Regions from separate parts of the Homo sapiens genome. Here region 2 is linked to region 1. The links are contacts of gene promoters, found by promoter capture Hi-C in human tissues and cell types (Jung and others, 2019). All regions are on one chromosome and are shown on one strand. The core of a region is centred on a gene start or on the middle of the fragment in contact, and the rest is flanking DNA. Distances in the headings are between cores, read along the strand shown.

Region 1 (5,404 bases), core at 1,587-4,086:
TTCTTCAGATCCAAACTGAAACATCAGTTAGGAGGCCGGGTGTGGTGGCTCACGCCTGTAATCCCAGCACTTTGGGAGGCCGATGTGGGCCGATCACTTGAGGTCAGGAGTTCGAGACCAGCCTGGCCAACATGGTGAAACCCTGTCTCTACTAAAAATACAAAAATTAGCTGGGCATGGTCGCAGGCGCCTGTAATCCCAGCCACTTGGGAGGCTGAGGCAGGAGAATTGCTTGAACCCAGGAGGTGGAGGTTGCAATGAGCTGAGATAGTGCCACTGCCCTCCGGCCTAGGCAACAAGAGCGAAACTCCATCTCAAAAACAAAAAAGAAAGAAAGAAAGAAAAAGAAAGAAAGAAAGAAAGACCAGTTAGGAACAATAAAGAATGGAAATGAAGTGTGCAGACTTCAAACCTTGCAGAAACCTGTGAATGATGGATGGGACATGCATTTGCCTCTAGGACTGAAGGAAGAGGAGACAATTTGATGCCACCAAACCACCAGATATTTGGCTAAGATGCCCGCCCAGCTTCAACTGACATACACACAACAGCACGACTTTCCAGCAAAAGTTCAACATTGGCTGGGCACGGAGGCTCATGCCTGCAATCTCAGCACTTTGGGAGGCCACGGGGGAGGATCCCTTGAGGCCAGGAGTTTGAGACCAGCCTGGGAAACATAGTGAGACCCCATCTCTACAAAAAATAGAAAATTATCTGGGTGCAGTGACATGCCTCTGTGGTCCCAGCTCCTCCAGAAGCTGAGGTGCAAGGATCCCTTGAACCCGGGAGGTGGAGGCTACAGTGAGCTGAGATCGTGCCACTGCACTCCAGCCTGGGCCACAGAGCAAGACCTTGTCTCTTAAAAGAAAAAGAAGAAAATTGAATGTTAATTTTATGCCCCAGATAATAGAGGAGCGTGAAGAAAATGGCAATAGGGTGTGGCTTATCCTGAATGAATCGGATCCAGTGAGTCAAGATCAACGCTGCTTCTCAGAGGTGATCAGCACCAAGATATCCTCAGATAAGCTCTTCGCAGATATTGAAGGGATTGCGACCATGAACCACTCTCACTGCTTAGTTCCAAAGCTCAGGAAGGAAAGACAGGGAGGGCGGGGCACTGTCCGGAGGCAGTGATGGCGTGCTGGCCGCAGTGGGTGCATGGACTTTGCAGATGTGGAGTCTGCACCTCCTCCTACATTTGCTGAGCACCTACTTCATCCAATACACCACCAAGGAGAAGACGGACAAGACCCCTGTTCTGGAGGGGGAAGAATAAAAATAATGCCTCTCACCGGGGGCCGGGCCAAGCTCTGGGCACCTCTTCATGAATTAACTCCTAAATTAATCCATGGAAGGGACACGTGGGAAGGGGCACGTGTGCAGAGCACAGGCTCGGACAGGAACCCCGGGAACACAGGGAGGTCAGTGCTTCTGTACCCAAAGGACCCCTCTCGGCAGGGGCCAGTGAGCAGCCGGGAAGGGGGCCTTGGAGTTGAGACCTGTTGGGCTTGTTAGAGCCCCGTTCCTTGATTTAAGAAAGCAGGCTAGGGCTGGGTGCAGTGGCTCACGCCTGTAATCCCAGCACTTTGGGAGGCCGAGGCGGGCGGATCACGGGGTCAGGAGTTCGAGACCAGCCTGGCCAACATGGTGAAATTCCGTCTGTACTAAAGATACAAAAAAATAACCGAGCGTGGTGGCAGGTGCCTGTAATCCCACCTACTCGGGAAGCTGTGGCAGGAGACTTGCTTGAACCTGGGAGGCAGAAGTTGCAGTGAGCCGAGATTGTGCTCCAGCCTGGGTAACAGAGCCAGATTCCATCTCGAAAAATAACATAACATAACATAACATAACATAACATAACATAACATAACATAACATAACATAAATAAAGCAAGCAAACTGGAACCAGCCTCATTCTTCCACTTCCCACAGTAGGGATTGGGCTGGAAATTCCGAAGCAAATCCCTCTCTGCACTTTCCTCCACCTGCCCCTGTGCGGCCAGGGCCCTTCATCCAGAAGCACGCAGCCTCGGGGACAGCTTCGCCATTTTTAAGTGTTTTCACGAGGGGTTGACACTGTGCTGTCAGCGACATCGCGAGCCCAGAAGTGAATAACTGACACAACAATGATTAAAGTTTGTGAGCAGCTTCAGGAAATGGCAGCGCAACTTTATGTTCAAAAGATCCAAGGCAGGAGAGTGTGAGGCCTTCCCTTTCCCAGATCCTAGGGGTGTGGAGGGCGGGCCTGGGGCCATGAGAGGTGTGGAGAGTCAGAACTGCGGCCTGCGGCGCAGCCCCCACCTGCTTTTCCTCTCCCCGCCCCCGTCGAGGGTCCCCAGGGATCAGGACTTGCTCCCAAAGTCGCCTGGCCCCAGCTCCCGCGAAGGCAGGAGGGTTTTGGAAGCAGCCGCTGGTGGGGGTCTCTCTCCTGACAGCTGCAGGGACTGGCCCCCTCCCCACCCACCGCCGGCGCAGCCAGAAGCAGCCACGCAGACGTGCGACCCCCCACAAACCGCCTCGGGACGAGGTTCTGCCGCGCCCGTGGGCCACAGTGTCCACGCGGGGCTTGTGCCGGTGTCGCCTCCCATGAAGACACCCGGAGGGTCCCGTCTGCGGCGCGTGAGGGCAGCGGTCCCGGAGAGCCAGACCCCGGCCAGGGAGAGCTGCCCGCGAGGGAGGGGGCGCGGCTGGCGGAGGGGGGCGGGATGGGGCGGGGGGCGGGGGGAGGAGAGGGGAGCGGCGGGCGGGGCCGGGCTGCAGGGAGCGGCGGGCTGGGGCGGGCTCGGGGCGGGCTCCGCGCTCCGTCCGCCCCCTCGCGCCCGCGCCGCGCTCGCTCAGCTCCCGCCCGCCTGTGCCGCCTGTGCGGCCGCCGGGAGCCAAGTTTGCGCGGACCCCGTCCCGAGCCCGCCGCGGCCATGGACGCGCCCGCCCGGCTGCTGGCCCCGCTCCTGCTCCTCTGCGCGCAGCAGCTCCGCGGCACCAGGTGAGCGGGCGGGGTCCGCGCGGCGCGGGGTCGGGGGCGGTGGGGGGCCCGCGTCGGCCCGAGATAGCGGCTGGGAGAGCGGCCGGCGCGAGCCCCGGGCCCCGGACCCCAAGTCTGAGAGCCCCGCGTCCTCCCTCCCCGGGGTCTTGCCCCGCGGGCCCCTCGTTGGACTCGCCCGGACGCTGCCCTTGGGCTCGGGACGCGGCGACCCCCGCGCTGGCCGCCCCCGCCCGGTGCTGTCCGCCGTCCTGGTGCTGAACCTGGGCTGGGCGAGGGCGTCGGAGCCTCCCGGTTCCCCTGCTCCGCGGCGCGCGTGGAGGGTCCCCGGGTCCGCGGCACTCGCGGGTCCCTGCCCGGCGGGTGCCTTGAGGAGAGGAAAGACCTGAGAACTCGGTGCGGGGAGGCTGCTCCCTTTGCGGGGGAGCCGTTCCCCGTTCCCCCAGTGAGCTTCCCCAGCCGGAGGGTCTGGGACGGACGGAGGAGGCTGTCTCGCTGTGGAGGGTGGGCCCGGCCTCCGGGGTCTCCTTTCAGAGTCCGTTTCAAATGGCGTGGGCAGAACTCCTGAGTGTGTGCAGGTGGACGGCGGCCAGGTGCCCCTGGCCACAGAAAAGAGATGGTGGATTTCTTAACTATTTTGGGAGGGACTCCCCAGAGAAGGAAGAGGCTGAGAAGGAGGCCCCCCGGGGCTGGAGCCCCCTCTGGCCTACAGTGCCCCCCCATCTCCTCTCTGGGGATCTGAAATGGGCTCCTCAGCCACCCAGGCAACTTGGCCCCACCACGGGGCCTGGCTGGCCGCCTTCCCTAGGAGTCACGAGAGGACATTTAGGGGCGTCTTTGAAAATCACCTCAGTGCAAAGACTGCAGAAGAAACAGCAAAGAGCCATCCCCCAGCATTCAGGATCTCAGAGACCGTGAAGATGTAGATATAGAGGTGGCTGACCGTAGTAGAGATGGCAGCACCCAACACGGGGCGGTGTGTCAGAGTTTTCCCATTGGAGGTGCGGGGGACAGAGCCCAGAAGGCCTGGGTCCAGCTGCAGCCGTGTGCCCATCAGGAGACCGCGGGGTCGGCACTGCCCCTGGCTCTAAGCAGCCCGTGTCCTGGGAAGAGCTTTGTTCTTCCATCAATCCCAGTGGGCCTTTCTCCCTTTGTCCTTCCCCTCCTTCAAGGTGAGAGGAAGGACGAAGCTCGGGGCACAGTTGTGGATGCTGTGCTGGAGCCATGGGGACAGCTGCCAGCCCAGGCCCACGGCCACTTAGCCAAGAGGCTGAAATCCAGACGGCTCTGAAACCCCAAAGTTTTAGCCCAAGTTCGACACCAGAATTCAGTTGGCAGCAAGTCCCGTCCCGCATGGACGTGAGACTCTTCTCATCTTTATTAATCCTACTTCTGGGATTATTTATATACACTTCCTGCTGGGAAATTCTTCAGGCCGCCCCCAGCCACAGCCTCTGTGTCCACCATTTCCCTGCTCTAAAATCTGAAGATCCTTAATCCTGGCCTGCATCTGGCTCCTGGGCTGACGGGGAAGGGATTCTGTGCCTGTTTCCTTGGGCAGGAAAGCTGGAAGGCCACGGCCCAGCCAGGAGTGGGGGGCCTCTGGGCCTGCAGTCACTCCCATCCCTGGAAGAGGGGTGCCGTTGGGGAGGACACCTTGCCTGGTGAGAGGTGCACTGCTTTGCTCAGCTCCCCTTTCGCTCTCTAGTTAAAAACAGTTACCACCTGGCTGCATGCTGCAGCCTCTCCTTTGAGGTCATCCTGTCCACACACATGTGCTGGGCTCAACCTCCTGCTCTTGGCGTCTAGGGGCAGGCCTGGAGGGTCTCCCCAGGGTGGAAGCACCTGCCAACTCAGCCCTAGGGGCCACCTTCAGACTTAGCGGGGTGCTGTCCATGAAGGGCCTCTCTGTATCTGTGCCCCTACACTCCAGAAACCAGGACAGCCGCCCTCCCTTCCCTCAGTCTCGGGGTCCTTGTCCTGGAGCTGTATTGGACGTCAGTGGGACCCATTCTGGCCATTACCCCAGGTCCCCATTGCAGCAGCTCCTCATGGGAAAGGCTGGGTGGGATAGGAAGGGAGTGTGCTGCGTGGCGGCCGTGGGTCGGCCCGGAGTGTGAAGACCCGTGCACGCGGCAGGCACCGAGCTTGCCGACTGCATGCCCGCGTGGGTGGCCCTCCCGGGCTGCCGGCACCTCCGTCTCCCTGGAGAAGCTGTGCTGCGGCTCCTACCGTGCCAGCTCGCGGTGCGCTGGTGGCGGTGCTCCTCTTCGCCTTGGTAACTGCAATGCTGGGAGGCTTGAGCTGCTCTAAAAGCAGGGCTGTGGGATATGTGGGCTGGGTGTGCGCCGTGGAGAAGCCTGCAGGGGGAGGATCCCAGCTACATCTACCTTCCCTGTCTGTCCCCAGGGCGCAGACAAGTGA
Region 2 (5,404 bases), core at 1,334-3,833, 96 kb after region 1:
GCCTCAAACGGCACAGTGCACCTTCTGTCCGAAGCAGCCGGCGAGGCGGCCCGCGAACCTCTGACGTGCTCCATTGCAATGAGGATGAACGAGCCTCAGGCGGAGGGTCAGCCTGGAACCCCTGCCCCGTGAACACCAGCCAGCTTCATGCTGAGGACCCCTCAGTCCAACCCAGAGGCCCATGCTGAGGTCCCGGCATGGGGGACTGTGGGGTGCAGCCGCCGCTTGGAGCGGAGGTGAATGGGACCCCACACGTTTCCTCCTCCTTCTCTGGATGCCTGTAATCATCACAGTACTCAAAAAAGGAAGAAGAAAAAGGTCCTTGAAACTTGCTGGAGTTGCAGTTCCGTTTTTTTGTTTGTTTGGTTGGTTGGTTGGTTTTTTTTTTTTTTGGAGACAGAGTCTTGCTCTTGTCGCCCAGGCTGGAGTGCAGTGGCGTGATCTCGGCTCACTGTAACCTCCACCTCCTGGGTTCAAGGGATTTTCCTGCCTCAGCCTCCCAAATAGCTGGGACTACAGGAGCTCGCCACCATGTCTGGCTATTTTTTTTCTATATTTGGTAGAGGCGGGGTTTCACCGTGTTGGCCAGGCTGGTCTCGAACTCCTGACCTCAGGCGATCCGCCTGCCTTGGCCTCCCAAAGTGCTGGGATTACAGGCTTGAGCCACTGCGCCCGGCCCCATTTTCTTTACATTTGTGACTTACAGTCATCAGCTGAAGGAAAGACAGTGGCTTGGCTAGGGCCTGCCCACTGCTGGCCGAGGCTGGCCGGGTCACCCAGGTGCCTGCCTCTCCTGCTCTGGAGCCGGGCACTGCCTGAGGGCCTGCAGCACCAGTCAGGGCCCCGGGGGATCCCTCCAGGGTCTCAGTTCTGACTAGCGAGTACCTCGATTCATGAGTATGTTTTTTAATGTAAGGTTTTAACGTAAGGTTTAAAAAGGCAGCCGCCCCGTTTCCTCCCCACTGGTCTCGCCTTCAGCAGTGATTTGTGGTGACTGTGACGTTCTCTTCGGTGGGCTGCCTGTGGATCGCCAAGTATGTGCTCCTGCTGCTTCTACCTGATGTCTCCCCATCTTGGGCTTTGAGGGGGGCTCATCCGGGGCATTCATATTTTCTGCCCGAGTTCGCTCCTGACCCAGGGCAGGTGGAAGCCAGCAGGTGAGGACCAGGGTGTCAGCCAGAAACTCGGAAGTGGCACAGAGGCAGCATCCGATAGCCCCTTTGTCAGAGGCGACCAGGGCCTTGAGTGAGCTGGGATGGACTTCTCTTATCCTGACATCCTGGAAGGGGGTGCAGCCTGCCTGTCTGTGTCCCAGTTGAGTTGGCAACATTTTTTGTCTTTCCTCATGATGCACGAAGTAGTGGTATCTCTGAGAGCCAATGGCAGCCTAGCTGCCGTGGAGAATGCTGGGGGGTGGGTGAGAGTTGGGGCACAGAGGACTCATGGGGCAGAGGCTGTGGTCCAGTCCTTGTGGGGGTGACTCCAGGGATGGCAGGTGGGTGGTGTGGCCAAGGAGGAGGGAGGTCAAGGCACTGGTGTTGGGGCAGGGAGAAGGGACCGCAGTGCCCATGTGTTTGAGGGAGGGGAGATGATGGTGTGGGAGTGTAGAGAGGGCGGGGGCCCAGCCCACAGCATCCATGCCCTGGGGATTGGGTGCCACCGGTCAAGGGCTCCACGGGGCTGGCTCTGGGGGAGGGAGAGCGGGCGCCATGTTGTGTGTGTGGTGCGTGTGGCGCGTGGGTGAGGGTATGGCCGGCTGCGTAAGTTTGTGGAAGCGTTCGGAATGCTCAGGAGATAAAAACAGCAGAGGGCTGCACCCCCCCACCCTCCCACCCCAGCTTTTCTCCAGGAGGACGCTCCGTCGTGGCCTGGGAGGACGTGGAAGGAGGGACCCCGGATGCAGGGCAGGTTCGTCTTGTGTGTTGAGAACGTGCTCTCCAGGGATCTGTGTTAATACAGGTAGCCCAAGCACAGTGTCCAATGAGGGAAGGAACATTTGAAACAGAAGAGATGACTTATTTTGTTGGACAAAAAAGGAATATGGTGGACATTAATTCTTAGAAGAGGTTTTATTTGAAACAAGTCACAAAAATAATCAAACAGCAGGTTGACTTTGGAGTTCAGCTCACAAAAGTTAAGCTTACAGAGCAAATAAAATAAGCTGAAGAAAAAGATAAGATGACTGGGCGCAGTGGCTCACGCCTGTAATCCCAGCACTTTGGGAGGCCGAGGCGGGTAGATCACGAGGTCAGGAGTTTGAGACCATCCTGGCTAACACGGTGAAATCCAGTCTCTACTAAAAATACAAAAATTAGCCGAGTGTGGTGGTGGACACCTGTAGTCCCAGCTGCTCGGGAGGCTGAGGCAGGAGAATCGCTTGAACCCGGGAGGTGGAGGTGGCAGTGGGCCGAGATCGTGCCACTGCACTCCAGCCTGGTGACAGAGCGAGACTCCGTCTCAAAAAAAAAAGAAAAAGAAAAAGAAAAAGCTAAGATGCAGCAGGTGGAGCCGCCTGCCGTTGGGTTTCAGCTTTTCTTATGGAAAGAATGTTACGGCCTGGGTGCCTCCATTCTCTGATTTCTTTTTCTTTCTTGACTTTTTAAAATTGAAACAAAACTCCCTAAAACATGAAATCTGAAGCGTTCAACTCCACGAGTTTTTACAAAGCAAACTGCACCGCGTCACATAGCTGATCCGTGTGTAGCTTGTCCTCTGGACGCGGGGCCACCCCCACACCCCGAGGTGACCCCAGGCGTAACCTACCCGTCCCCGGCCTTGGTGCCTGCAGATAGTTTTGCTTGTTTCGAGCTTTTGTCTTGGGATCCGGGGCCATCCACCCTGGGTGTGGCCGCTCAGTCGGGCCCCTGTGTGGGGCTTTCCCGTGGTGTGGGGTGCGGTTCTGCCGTGTCCGTCCCCACTGCGGGGCTGCTCTGCTGGCTGAATTCTCCACGTCTTATGTATCCACCCTCATCTTGCGAGGCACCGGGGTCCCGGCTTTTGGCCACAGACATCCGAGCGCCTTCTGTTGCCCGTGGCGCATCTTTCATGTGGGCACACCCAGGAGTGGAGTTTCCGGGAAACAGACGTTTCCCTCGCGTGGCCGCACCAGGTCGCACTCTGCACTGTGTTTCTGCCTCCAGTTATGTGGGGTTTTCTGCACCCACAGCCACTCTGGCGCCAGCTGGGTGTCCTGTGTTTCCATTCAGCTCTGACATCAATTACCTGACGTTAGCGCAGACCCTGCAGATGAAGGGCTCATTCCCACAAGCCTGCCCCTACTTGAGAGCCAGCTGCAAGTGCCAGGTGACAACCTGGATTCTGACCAACTGGCTGTGAATCGGGGGTGTCCGTGACCCCTTCCTGAGGCTCGGGTGGGCTAGAATAGCTCCCGGAACTCAGGAAAACACTTTGCTTAGTGTACCCGTTTATTAGAAAGGACAGCCACACGGAGGAGCTGCACGGGAGGCTGAGGTATGGGGGGTGCAGAGCTTCCGTGCCCTCTCCAGGCACGCCACCCTCCAGCACCTTGGTATATTCACCAACTCGGACACTCTCCAGACCATGTCATTGAGGGCTTTTTGTGGAGGCTTCGTGACAGGCACGGTTGATTCAACAGCCAGCCACTGCTGATTACCTCAGTCTCTCCTGTCTCCTCTCTGGACCGTGGGCTGTGGGACGGAAAGTTCCAACCCGCTAGGCATTCCTTGGTCCTGCTGAAGACCAGCCGCATCCTGGAGCTGTCCCGGCTCCCGGCTCCCCGTCATCTCATTAGCATGCAAAAAGACACTCTTACCGCACTCCAGGATTCCTAGGGTCAGAGGGGCTGCGCGCTGGGAAACTGAGACAAAGGCTGAATCTGTGTTGATGGCACAGTCACTCTGGGTCGTGTGGGAATTCCCGATGCACCTCCTTCCAGCACATGGACTGTCAGAGCCCTGCGTTGTCGCCAGCACAGCAGATCTGAAAGGCACTAGGCTGTGGCCTCGCGACGGCTGAGGTGAGCTGCTTCTCCGAGGCTCCCGGGTTATTGGGGACCCTCCTTTTAAAGGTGCCTGTTCCAGTCTTTTGCCCCATTTCAAAATTGGGCTGTCAAAGAACAATGTCATTGGGGGGTCCGTCTTTTTTGTTGGTTCCTGGGGGCTGTGTGTGTTTTAGAGACAAGTGCTTTGATTTTTTGTGTTGCAAACAGCTTCTGTCACTCCGCGGCTCGCCTTCCACTCCATGGATGGTGTCTTCTGATGAACAGAAAGTAAAAGCTTACTTTATAATTAGGGCTTTTGCGTCCTGGCTGTGTGTGGGGCCTCTTTCTGGACTGATCTGTCCCCTTTGTTTTTTGCCCCCATGTCGTACTGTTCTGATTTCTTCTGCTTTATAATCACCATTGGTAACTTGTGTTATGAGTCTCCAATTTGGGGTTTTTAGTTTTCAAGGTTATCTTGGTTATTGGCTTTTTACATTTCCATACACATGGGCTTGTTAATAAGCCATTTACAGTTGGCTTATTTGCTTTCAAAATCTCCATAAGACATTTGGATTGCATTTGGATTTCTTGATCAGTATGGGAGATTAGCATCTTTACAATACTGAGGTTTCCAATCCGTGAACATATCTTTAGGCCTTTGATTGGGGTTTTTTTGGCAGGGGAGTTGCGGGGGGCAGACAGGACCTCACTCTTGCCCAGGCTGGAGTGCAGTGGCATGATCATGGCTCACTGCAGCCTTGACCTCCTGGGCTCAAGCAATCCTCCCACCTCAGCCTCCCAAGTAGCTGGGACTACAGGTGTGCACCACCATGCCCAGCTATTTTGGCATTTTTTTGTAGAGACAGGGTCTCCCTATGTTGCCCAGGCTGGTCTTGAACTCCTGGGCTCAAGTGGTCCTTCTGCCTCAGCCTCCTAAGGTGCTGGGATTACAGATGCAAGCCACTGCACCCGGCCTTAAATTCTTTCAATAATATTTTGTAGTCTTGTGTGTAGCGGTCATCCACATTTTTTGTTCAAATGATTCCCTGGTATTTCAGTGCTTATGCTGTTTTAAGCCGTATTACTTTTACAGTTTTTTTTTTTTTATCTTTTTGTTTATAGCAATGTGTAAAGAAGTGTGATTAACTCATTTGTCTTGGCCTCTCCTGGTCCCCGTAGTTTGTCTGTGGTTGCTCCGGAACCTCTCTGTGCGCTGCCATTTTGTCAGTGACCGGCTGTTTGTTTCTGCCTTTCCTTCAGATGTTGCCTTGTTACCCTGGCACTGTTGATCCTTCCAAAACAGTATGGGACAGAAGTGGTGACAGCCACATCCTCTCGTGCCTGATTTCAGGGAAAAGCTTTAAGAATTCCACCATTAAGGGTGCTGTTTGCGGAAATACTGTTTTTCCTTCGTAAATCCCCACCAACAAATTAAAGAGGTTC

The links. The method cuts DNA at HindIII sites, captures the fragments that hold promoters and counts their contacts. A contact is called where the count stands out against the background at its distance.
Region 2: a contact is called between a fragment that was not itself captured here and the fragment with the promoter of GABRD in region 1, in 4 of the 25 tissues and cell types used here (IMR-90 fibroblasts, dorsolateral prefrontal cortex, mesendoderm cells and 1 more).

The regions. Positions count from the first base shown.
Region 1 is chr1:2,016,509-2,021,912 of GRCh38, forward strand. It overlaps GABRD (gamma-aminobutyric acid type A receptor subunit delta), which reads left to right and starts at 2,837. Exons shown (of 9, transcript NM_000815.5): 1 at 2,837-2,983. The coding sequence starts at 2,916. It overlaps LOC105378589 (a long non-coding RNA gene), which reads right to left and starts at 1,580. Exons shown (of 2, transcript XR_001737844.3): 1 at 1-1,580. RefSeq lists enhancers at 1,853-2,431, 2,432-3,009. The HindIII fragment of the contact is 31,331 bases long and covers 1-5,404 here.
Region 2 is chr1:2,112,314-2,117,717 of GRCh38, forward strand. All of the region lies in intron 4 of PRKCZ (protein kinase C zeta), which reads left to right. Among named protein-coding and RNA genes, the nearest start is that of PRKCZ, 65 kb to the left of the region's middle. RefSeq lists an enhancer at 185-234. The HindIII fragment of the contact is 4,407 bases long and covers 381-4,787 here.